Regions from separate parts of the Homo sapiens genome. Here region 2 is linked to region 1. The links are contacts of gene promoters, found by promoter capture Hi-C in blood cells and fetal thymus (Javierre and others, 2016). All regions are on one chromosome and are shown on one strand. The core of a region is centred on a gene start or on the middle of the fragment in contact, and the rest is flanking DNA. Distances in the headings are between cores, read along the strand shown.

The links. The method cuts DNA at HindIII sites, captures the fragments that hold promoters and counts their contacts. A CHiCAGO score of 5 or more calls a contact.
Region 2: a fragment that was not itself captured here is called in contact with the fragment with the promoter of OTOL1 in region 1 in 2 of 17 cell types (M0 macrophages and M2 macrophages); the score reaches 6.1 in M0 macrophages.

Annotation. Positions count from the first base shown.
Region 1 is chr3:161,494,908-161,500,119 of GRCh38, reverse strand. It overlaps OTOL1 (otolin 1), which reads right to left and starts at 3,312. Exons shown (of 4, transcript NM_001080440.1): 1 at 2,949-3,312; 2 at 860-949. The coding sequence starts at 3,312. The HindIII fragment of the contact is 10,143 bases long and covers 2,413-5,212 here.
Region 2 is chr3:163,490,729-163,495,280 of GRCh38, reverse strand. No RefSeq gene overlaps it. Among named protein-coding and RNA genes, the nearest start is that of LINC01192, 190 kb to the right of the region's middle. The HindIII fragment of the contact is 358 bases long and covers 3,094-3,451 here.

The DNA of each region.
Region 1 (5,212 bases), core at 2,063-4,562:
GAGGCTAAAACATTTAACTTGATGGATAGATGGTATTTCTACAGGCTGCTGGTATTCACTGAGGAATTTCTAAATATCCTAGTGAATCTGTAGCCTTCCTTCAGTACCTTTAAGCACTTACAGAACCAGGGATTTCCTGGGGCAGAAAGCCTTCTTTACTGATACACCTATGGAATTACAGAATTTCTGAGCTTGAAAAGAGCTATAAAGCCACTCATAACTACAAATCTTCTTCGATAGTAAACAAGATATAAATAAATATCTAGTTCATTTCCTTCAATTTCCAGGTGAAAGAAAATGACTTGCCCAATGTCATTATTATAAGCTTGATTACTTCTGTTTTAATTAAGTTGTCTTCCCACCACTGACACTGCCTCTGATTTCAGAGTGAGCCAAGGGATATATTAAATTCTTCTTAGCAGGCATACTATCCACCTAAACTGAATATTCAGAGAATTGCCTGCTCTAGTTAGTTCCATCTAATACAAAATTATTTGCATCCAAAGGAAGTAGGCTAACATGAGCATGTACAGGAAGGGTATCTCTATACCCTTCCCCAGAGACTATACTCTGTGGCTGCTTGTCACTAGGTCAGCTAGGTGACCAATGAGAGATGGAAAAGCTGTGTGACAATCTGTGTGCCTGCATGCATGTGTGCAGTGTTCCCAGGTAAGTTTAAAATTTCTCAATTGGCTGTTTATAAAGTTAACATATTTATATCAAATATAATGTGCTTTATCAAGTATTTACATTTTTAAAATTGACTCATCTGCAAGAATCTAGTCTTTAAGTAGCAAATTGCTCTCCTGAAAAATGATGCAGAATGTCCCTTGAGTTTTGACATGAATGAATTACCTACCTTTCTCTCCTTTGTAGCCTCTAGGGCCTTGGGGCCCAACAACTCCTGGTGGCCCTGGGATCCCCAAATTTCCAGCCTCTCCTTTAGGACCTAGAAATGGGATTTTAAATACATCAGAATATAAAATTTCTCTTTTAAAGTTCATTAGTTCAGGAAAGAAAAAAAGCATTTTACTGCAATCAATAAGTATCAATGACCTAATGGTAAAATCTGAGTAAGAATAAACCACACAGAGTCCTAAGGGCAATATTTTTGTCTGATTTGCAATTTCGTACTACCTGAATAGATAAATTGAGACCATTAGTACTTGTCACTGTATTCATGGCAGTGATCAAATGATTCAGGGAAGCAGCACTATATCAAACAAGAACAAAATGATAATCTGACACTTAACCTCATATGGACCACACTTTCACATTGGAAGTAAAAACAACACCTAGCACCTTTGGATTTCCCTTTTATTCACTTACTCATTCATTCATTAACTATTTCTGAGGCATCCTATACACCAAGCACCCTGCAAGGTGTTAGGAATGCAGCCATCAACATTCCAGCAGTCCCTACTCTCATGAAGCTGAGAGTCTATGAAAGATAAACATTTAACAAATAGCCACACAAATACGTAGAAATTGTCACATTGTAGTAAATGATATAAAGAAAAATACGAAGGTCTTATTGAGGACTTAACTGATGAGATCAGAGGCTTCCTTGAGAAAATGGTATTAAGCTAAGACCCAAAGAATAGATTAAGATTTCCCAAAGCAGAGTAGCTTCCCTAAGTAGGACCAAGATAGTCTCAGCATTCTAAGCTCTCAAGCACTATGCTCTGTGGCAGAACCAGTCAGACTAAGACATATGAGCTCCCCAGGCAGGGTAATAACTTGGCACACCTTGGAATTATTTGTCATATATATTTAGAGGAGAGAATGAACCCTGAGAACAGCACAGCTAAATCCACCACTGGGTAAAACAAAAGCCCTGATGTTACAGAACTCACAGCCTTAGCAAATAGTTTAGCAACCAGCTGTGTCTACTTGACCATGCCCTTGGGATTTTCACCGCCAAGCAGCTTACCAGCCAGATAGGATACTAAGACTTCTGGTAAATATAATTTTCTCAGTCTCATTAAATTTTCAGTAATGTTTTAGCAATCCTGACATCTTGGTACCCAAGCTACGGCCCATCTCCTTTACTCCTTAATGCAGCTCTGCATAAATACTAACCGCATTTCCCAAAAGGTCCCTACAAAGGGATGAAATGAATGAAAAGCTTGGTGAAGATGTATAATTGCTTAGTTTATAACATTAAATTCCTCAGGCAATGGTGAATTTTAAGTTGACATTCTGATCTTAACTTTACCTTGAATTCTCTTCTAGATGACATGTAAAAGCTGAAATGTATTAGAATAAAGCCAAGACTATATTCATTATGTATATATTATAGACATCTGAAATCTTGAAATACATAACCATGGTGTTCAATGGAGAAAATCATTGGGCAATGACACAGTATTGCCTCAGAAATTCAATGAGAAGCAAATGGAATCCTAAGCTTTATTCTCCACCTCAGAGCCATTCCATTTCTAATCCTAACTACAAATAGCACTCAGAAAATCCATCAGTCAGCACACATTCTTGCAAGGCAACAGAAGTTTCATTTACCCTTTTTAAATCAGCCACTAATTTAAAAAATTGTACTGGTAATAAACCTGTGCATCTTGAAGAACCAGAGCACCATGCTGGAGTTGGTAATTCCTGACTTTGCTCTCACCAGCACTGTCCAGTAGAATTGTCTACAATGATGGAAATGCTATCTGTGCTGCCCAATACAGTGGCTGTTGAGCACTTGAACTGTGGCTAATGTGACTGATGAACTGAATTTTTTACCTTATTCAATTTTAATTTTAATATTTATTAATTACCACATTGGGCAACACAGCACCCATTTACATTTGTAACAATGTGACACCTAGACCTGTTACTATTTGCATAACAACGTAGAAACTCCTGGGGCAATTTCACCCGACAACCTACCTCTCAACTCTACCAATGTACAAGTGAGAAACATGACTTCTTATATTTTCTAATACCTGGCTGTCCAGTCTCTCCAGGTTCTCCTTTCTGCCCGGGTACAGGTGAACAACAATCACAACAATTCAAAAAGAAATCAGCTGGGTCAAGAGTGAAGTTTTCAAAGGGAGAGAGAGTGGCAGTGCCAAAGACAGAATCCAAGGCCGAGGGTTTGGTAATTGGTTCTGCCATTTCAGCCATTTCTGTGAAGAGGGTTTCTTCTTCTTCTGGAGGTGGGCCACTGGATGGCTTTAGACCCTTTGGCATCTCTCTTTCCTCAGATTTCTTCGTAAATTTGGTATGTGGTGTGGTCTTTGCTATTGTGTTCATACCAGCAATAGCCAAAATAATTAAAATAGCACAAAGCCAAGAAAACATCCACATATTTGAAGCTGGAAGAAAGATATAATAGGAAAATATATACATATTATGTGAGGTCCAAATGAAAAGACTAAGTCATATAAACATATACTCATATAAAAGAAATATATATGTATATGAATCATAAGAATGAATGATATGCATAATATAGAATGATATATTTTCAATATATTTTACATGTAAATGTGTACTTGAATCACTACAGAATATTTTATGTACTTATTTATTATAAAGAACACTTTACTTCCATTCATCTTTCTGGTTATTTTCTTAGTATTATATATTGTTCCCAACTATTCAAACTATCTGGCCAAATAGCAAACATGATCTACAATAAATACAACATGACTCAATAGCTCATATACCCTGTGGAAGATAAATGTGTATAATTTCCTCACTGATTTCACTCAGATTTATAGAAATCAAATACATTTGTATTAGAGGGAGATGAAAAATATTGAACTGAGTAGTTTATTCCAGCAAACTCAATTATTTCAAGAAAAAATATGGTGAAATAGTCCTTAAATCTACTAAGGATAATGGTCCTGTTGTGAGAGCAATTTTTTAAAATCTATTTTAATAAGTGAAGAGAGAGACAATTAAAAATAATAAATTTGAATATATGCTACATTCTTAGATTCTTCACATGGCATTTAACTCTCCACCTCTTTGCTTTGTAATTTGGGGAGTTTTTCTAGAAATTCATGTTTATTCTTGTATTATTTTAATGGGGCAAAATGTGGTTATTCTAAAAAGAGCTTTGGCAATGTCCAAAGTGATATGATGTAAGGTTTCTAATGAGGTGAAATTTTGATAGTTCAGAGTATTCCATTCCAAATCAACTCCCAGTAGTCTAAGGGGTGCTAACAGATAGCCAGGGTTATAAATCCACATTTCCTGATAGGAGAAGGCAGCCATAATTAAGATAAATAGTAAGAGAGTAAATAGAATGGAAATAAAGAGATTAAAAAGGTCTACTGTTTATACAGTCCCTACTCTGAGTAGATGCCGTACATTAATCAATCCAATCAGGTCTCACAACAGCTCTCCATTCCCCCTTGAGAACTGGAACATGACGATGATGCTCTCTCTCACCACTCCTATTCAACATAGTACTGAAAGTGCTAGCCAGAGCAATCAGACAAGAGAAAGAAATAAATGGCATTCAAATAGGAAAAGAAGAAGTCAAACTCTCTCTCTTTGCAGAAAATATTATTCTATACCTAGAAAACCCTAAAGACTGCCAAAATTCTCCTGGGACTGATAAATAATTTCAGCAAAGTTTCAGGAAAGAAGGTCAATGTACAAAAACGAGTAGAATTTCTGTACACCAATAACATTCAAGCTGGGAGTCAAATCAAGATTGTAATTCCATTTACAATGGCCACGAAAAAAAATACCTAAGAGTACATCTAAGGAAGGAAGTAAGAGATCTGGAGAACTACAAGAAGAACTACAAAACACTGCTGAAAGAAGTCAGACATGACACAAATAAATGAAAAAACATTCCATGCTCATGGATTAGAAGAATCAATATTGTTAAAGTGGTCATACTGCCCAAAGCAATTGATAGATGCAACACTATTCCTTTCAATCTATCAATGTCACTTTTCATATGACTAGAAAAAACTACTCTAAAATTCATGTGGGTCCAGAAAAAGAGCCCTAATAGCCAAAGCAATCCTAAGCAAAAAGAACAAAGCCAAAGGCATCACATTACCTGATTTCAAACTATACTGTAAGGCTACGATAACCAAAACAGCAAGGTACTGGTACAAAAACAGACACATAGACCAGTGGAACAGGATAGAGTATCTAGAAATAAAGCCACACAACTATGACCATCTGATCTTTGATAAAGTCAACAAAAATAAGCGATGCAGAAAGGACTCCCTATTCAGTA
Region 2 (4,552 bases), core at 2,023-4,522, 2.0 Mb before region 1:
TAGATACATAACAGACTAACACACACAAGAAACAAAATTAATGTAGAATAGAAAAGCTAAAATAACACATTAAACAAATTATTTTAAAAGGAAGTTAATATAAAAACTAATTACAAAATCAATAAGCAGAGACCCCAGAACATTCTGAATGATATGGAATATATATATATATTTAAAGGAAAAAATAGACATCTGTATGAAATGAATTAACAGTGTAAAAATAAATCAAGAGATTTAACACTGTAAGTGGAGGCATTACTTTATGTTCAAAGTTTAGTTAGTTTGAAATAGGTATTTAAGAACCAAGTTCAGGAAACTAGTTTAGAAATTATTCAAGTGTGAATAAGAAAGCCTAGATTAATGTTTTGGGTACACATTGACAATGTGTGAAACCCTGAGAGCTTTAACCCTCCGTAGCTCATATTTCCTTTTACAAAAGGGAAATATTAATAAACCATAAAACTGTTGTGAGAATGTACTGTAACAAAAACCGAAACACAAAGTAGCATCCAATAGCATCAAAACTAATCTTAGCTATAAATATTATTACTAATACTGTCATCATCATTGAACTCTTCATGGAAGTTAATTCTGATACTTATGGAGATACTACCATTTACCTAGAGAAGGTAAATTATTTTGCACAGTGTTTGTCTTTGGCACGTAAGATGACATTTCTTGAAAGAATATGTTATCTGAAACTAATTTACACTTAGTACAAAACAGCTGCATCAAGGTATCATAAATTACAGCCAAATGTAATAAAAACAGCTACACAGACACAAAATATTTATATTATCTGCCTATATTAGTCCTAAATCAATTATTTAAAATGGGTGATTGGGGTGATTATGAATAAAATCTCTTCATATTTCTTTGTAACACAGACATGAATAGACCTGAGTCAAGGCATTTGTATAAGAATAAAATGTGAGTATAAATATAAAATTAGAACATTCATTACTAATTATTATTATTATTATTTTTTTGAGACGGAGTCTCATACTGTTGCCTAGGCTGGAGTGCAGTGGCTCGATCTCAGCCCACTGCAACCACCACCTCAGCATTCTCCTGCCTCAGCCTCCCGGGTAGCTGGGATTACAGGCGCCCAAGTAGCTGGGATTACAGGCACCCATCACCATGCCCAGCTGATTTTTTGTATTTTTAGTAGAGACAGAGTTTCACTATGTTGGCCAGGCTGGTCTCAAATGCCTGACCTCATGATCCACCCGCCTCAGCCTCCCAAAGTGCTGGGATCACAGGCGTGAGCCACTGTGCTTGGCCAAAATTGCTTTTTACTGTCAGTGTTTCTGTGGTTATCAGTGAATGATCTACAGAAGCACATATAAAAATATTTACCATCAGAAATTGGCACAAAGAAATTTTTCTAGGTATTATCAAGTGCTTTAAAAGGAATGCAAATAATTCTCTTCACTTTCTAATCAAAAAAATTGTATAAGATTCAGCCTTTATTATCCCCAGATTAATGATAAATCTGACACATCTCTTGTTTCTATAAATGTAAGGTCATTAATTTTAATGACTTTATTATTATTTTAAACTTTCTGGGGGATTTTTTTGTTTATTTGTTTCCTCTCAACTGTGTTCTCTTTCATTATTCTTTTCTAAATATTTTCACATTATGAAACTCAAGTTTCTTTTTGGTTGAATTTATTACTGAATTTTAGCATTTAGATACCTTGGTATTAGAACTGCCACAATCAGGACACAGAACAATTCATTCATCATTAATAACTCTATTATGCTATCCCTTCAACCCTGTCCTCTTGCAACCACTTTTCTGATCTCTGTCATTATAATTTTGGCTTTTTGAGAATGTTGAATAATAGGAAAATAAGATATGTAACTTTTGTGACTGACATCTTTTACTCAGCAAAATTCCTTTGAGATACATCCAAAACACTAGGTGTACTAAAACTATTTCTTTTTTAGTGCAGAATAGCATTCTTCTGTATACAAGAGTTTATTTATTCATTTACCTATTGGAGGCAGTTAGGGATATTTACCATGTGAGGAAATTATGAAGAGAACCAGAGTACAGTTAGAGGTGAGCGATTTCTGTTGCCACTAACTTTATACCACTTGTTGATCTAATTGCATGGTTCATAGTAGTATCTGACAGAAAAGGAAGTTATGCATTTACCATTGCTGTTCAAATAATCTGAAAATGTTCATAGACTGATGTAGGCCTGAACAATCTGTCATCTAGAAAAAACCACACAGACATTGAGATAAGGTATGCAATAAGAGGCCAGTCTTTATTGTTAAAAAGGAAGTGTAGTTTCAGCCAAAGTGCAGATTTTACACAAGGTGTTCTGTGCCAGACTAATTGTGTCATTATAGGTTGAAAGGCCCACAGAAATATAACCTGGAAGAATTCCACTCTAAAGATCAAGGATCCACATGTGAGTTTAGTACTGGGGAAAGTGGTATTCTTCAGAATTTCAGGAATCGCTAGAAACTAAGAACACCTGCACCAGTACCCTTGAAGCAAATGGGCAGAGTGATGGGCATGCCAGTGACTAAACAGAACAGATTAATAACCCTTGAGTTTTTGGAAATATTAAGTAAAAGGAATTCTGGAAAGAATGATTCTGAGAAGAAGAGTTTTAAGTAAATAAGTGTGTGTGTTGGGGGTTGACTCAAAGTAAGTGCTATCCAAACATTAAGAGGGAGTTTATTTTACAATCCTCACATTGCTGAGAGGATTCAAAGGGAAACAGGTATGTGTTACACCGCTACAATGAACTCATTTTTGACAAAGGTGCCAAGAACACACACTGGTGAAAAGACAGTCTCTTCAATAAATGGTGCTGAGAATACTGTATATCCACAGGCAAAAGACTGAAAGTACATATAGAAAAATCAAATCAGCATGGATTAAAGACTTAAATCTAAGACCTCAAACTATGGAACTACTACAACACACACACACACACACACACACACACAAAATGGAGAAACTCTCCAGGAAAAATTTTAGTCTTGGCAAAAATTTCCTGAGTAATACCACACAAGCACAGGCAATCAAAGTAAAAATTGACAAATGGGATCACATCAAGTTAAAAAGCTTCTGCACAGCAAAAGAAACAATAAAGGGAAGAGACAACCCACAGAATGGGAGGAAATATTTGCAAACTACCCATTTGATGAGGGATTAATAACCAGAGTATATGAGGAGCTCAAGAAGCTGTATAGGAAAGAAATATCATAATCCAATTTAAAAATGGTAAAATATTTGAATAGCCATTTCTCAAAACAAGATGTGCAAATGAGAAACAGGCATACGAAAATGTGCTCAACATCATTCATCATCAGAGTAGTGTATATCAAACTACAATGTGATACCATCTCACCCAGTTAAAATGGACTCTATACAAAAGACAGGCAATGACAAATGCTGGTGAGAATGTGGAGAAAAAGGAAAGCTTGTACAGTGCTGATGGGAGTGTAAATTAGTACAACAACTATGGAGAACAGTTTGGAAGTTAGTTAAAAAACTAAAAATAAAGCAATGATATGATCCAGGAATTTCACTCCTGGGTATATACTCAAAAGAAAGGAAATCAATATTTTGAAGAGATATTAGCACTCCCAAGTTTGTTGCAGCACTGTTCACAATTGCAAAAATTTGGAAGCAACCTAAGTGTTCACTAACAGATGAATAAAGAAAGAAAGTGTGGTAGATATACACAATACAGTACTGTTCAACCATAAAAAATGAGATTCTGTCGTTTGCAACAACATGGGTGGAACTGGAAGTCATTATGTTAAGTGAAATAAGCCAGACACAGAAAGACAAATATTGCATGTTCTCACTTATTTGGGGAATCTAAAAATCAAAATAATTTAACTCATACAAACAGAGAGTAAAATGATGGTTACCAGATGCTGGTAAGGTTAACTGGAGCAAGGTGGGTTTTGGAAGGTTAACAGGTACAAAAAAAAATAGTTAGAAAGAATGAATGAGACTTAGTATTTGATAGCACAACAAGGTGACTATAATCAAAATGTGTTAATTGTACCTTTTAAAATAATTAAAAGAGTACAGTTGGATTGTTTGTAGCACAAAGGATAAATACTTGAGGGAATGTATATGCCATTTCCCATAATGTGATTATTATGCATTGCGTGCCTGTATAAAAACATATCAGGTACTTTATAAATATATACACCTACAATATACCCATAAAATTAAAAATTAAATCGTAAAACAAATACGTATGTGTTAATATTTATATGCCTTTATGATAGAGACAGGAGGCAGCCAAATGCCCAGGCAGATAGGTGCGGGTACTTGGTGAAACCCCAACTCCAAACCAAAAAACTTTAAAGCCTGAAAACCAAGCTACAAGTTAAATCCTTGGACTGGACTGAGAACTTGTCTTCCTGTTTAGCATTGCTTTTTTCTGATTGACCCCCACCCTTCACCTATTTTAAATATACTTGCCCTTTTCTTATTGGTTTTCTATACTGTCATGCCAATCTTTGAGTAGTGTCTTTGCTTTAACCTTTTCTGCATACTCACAAA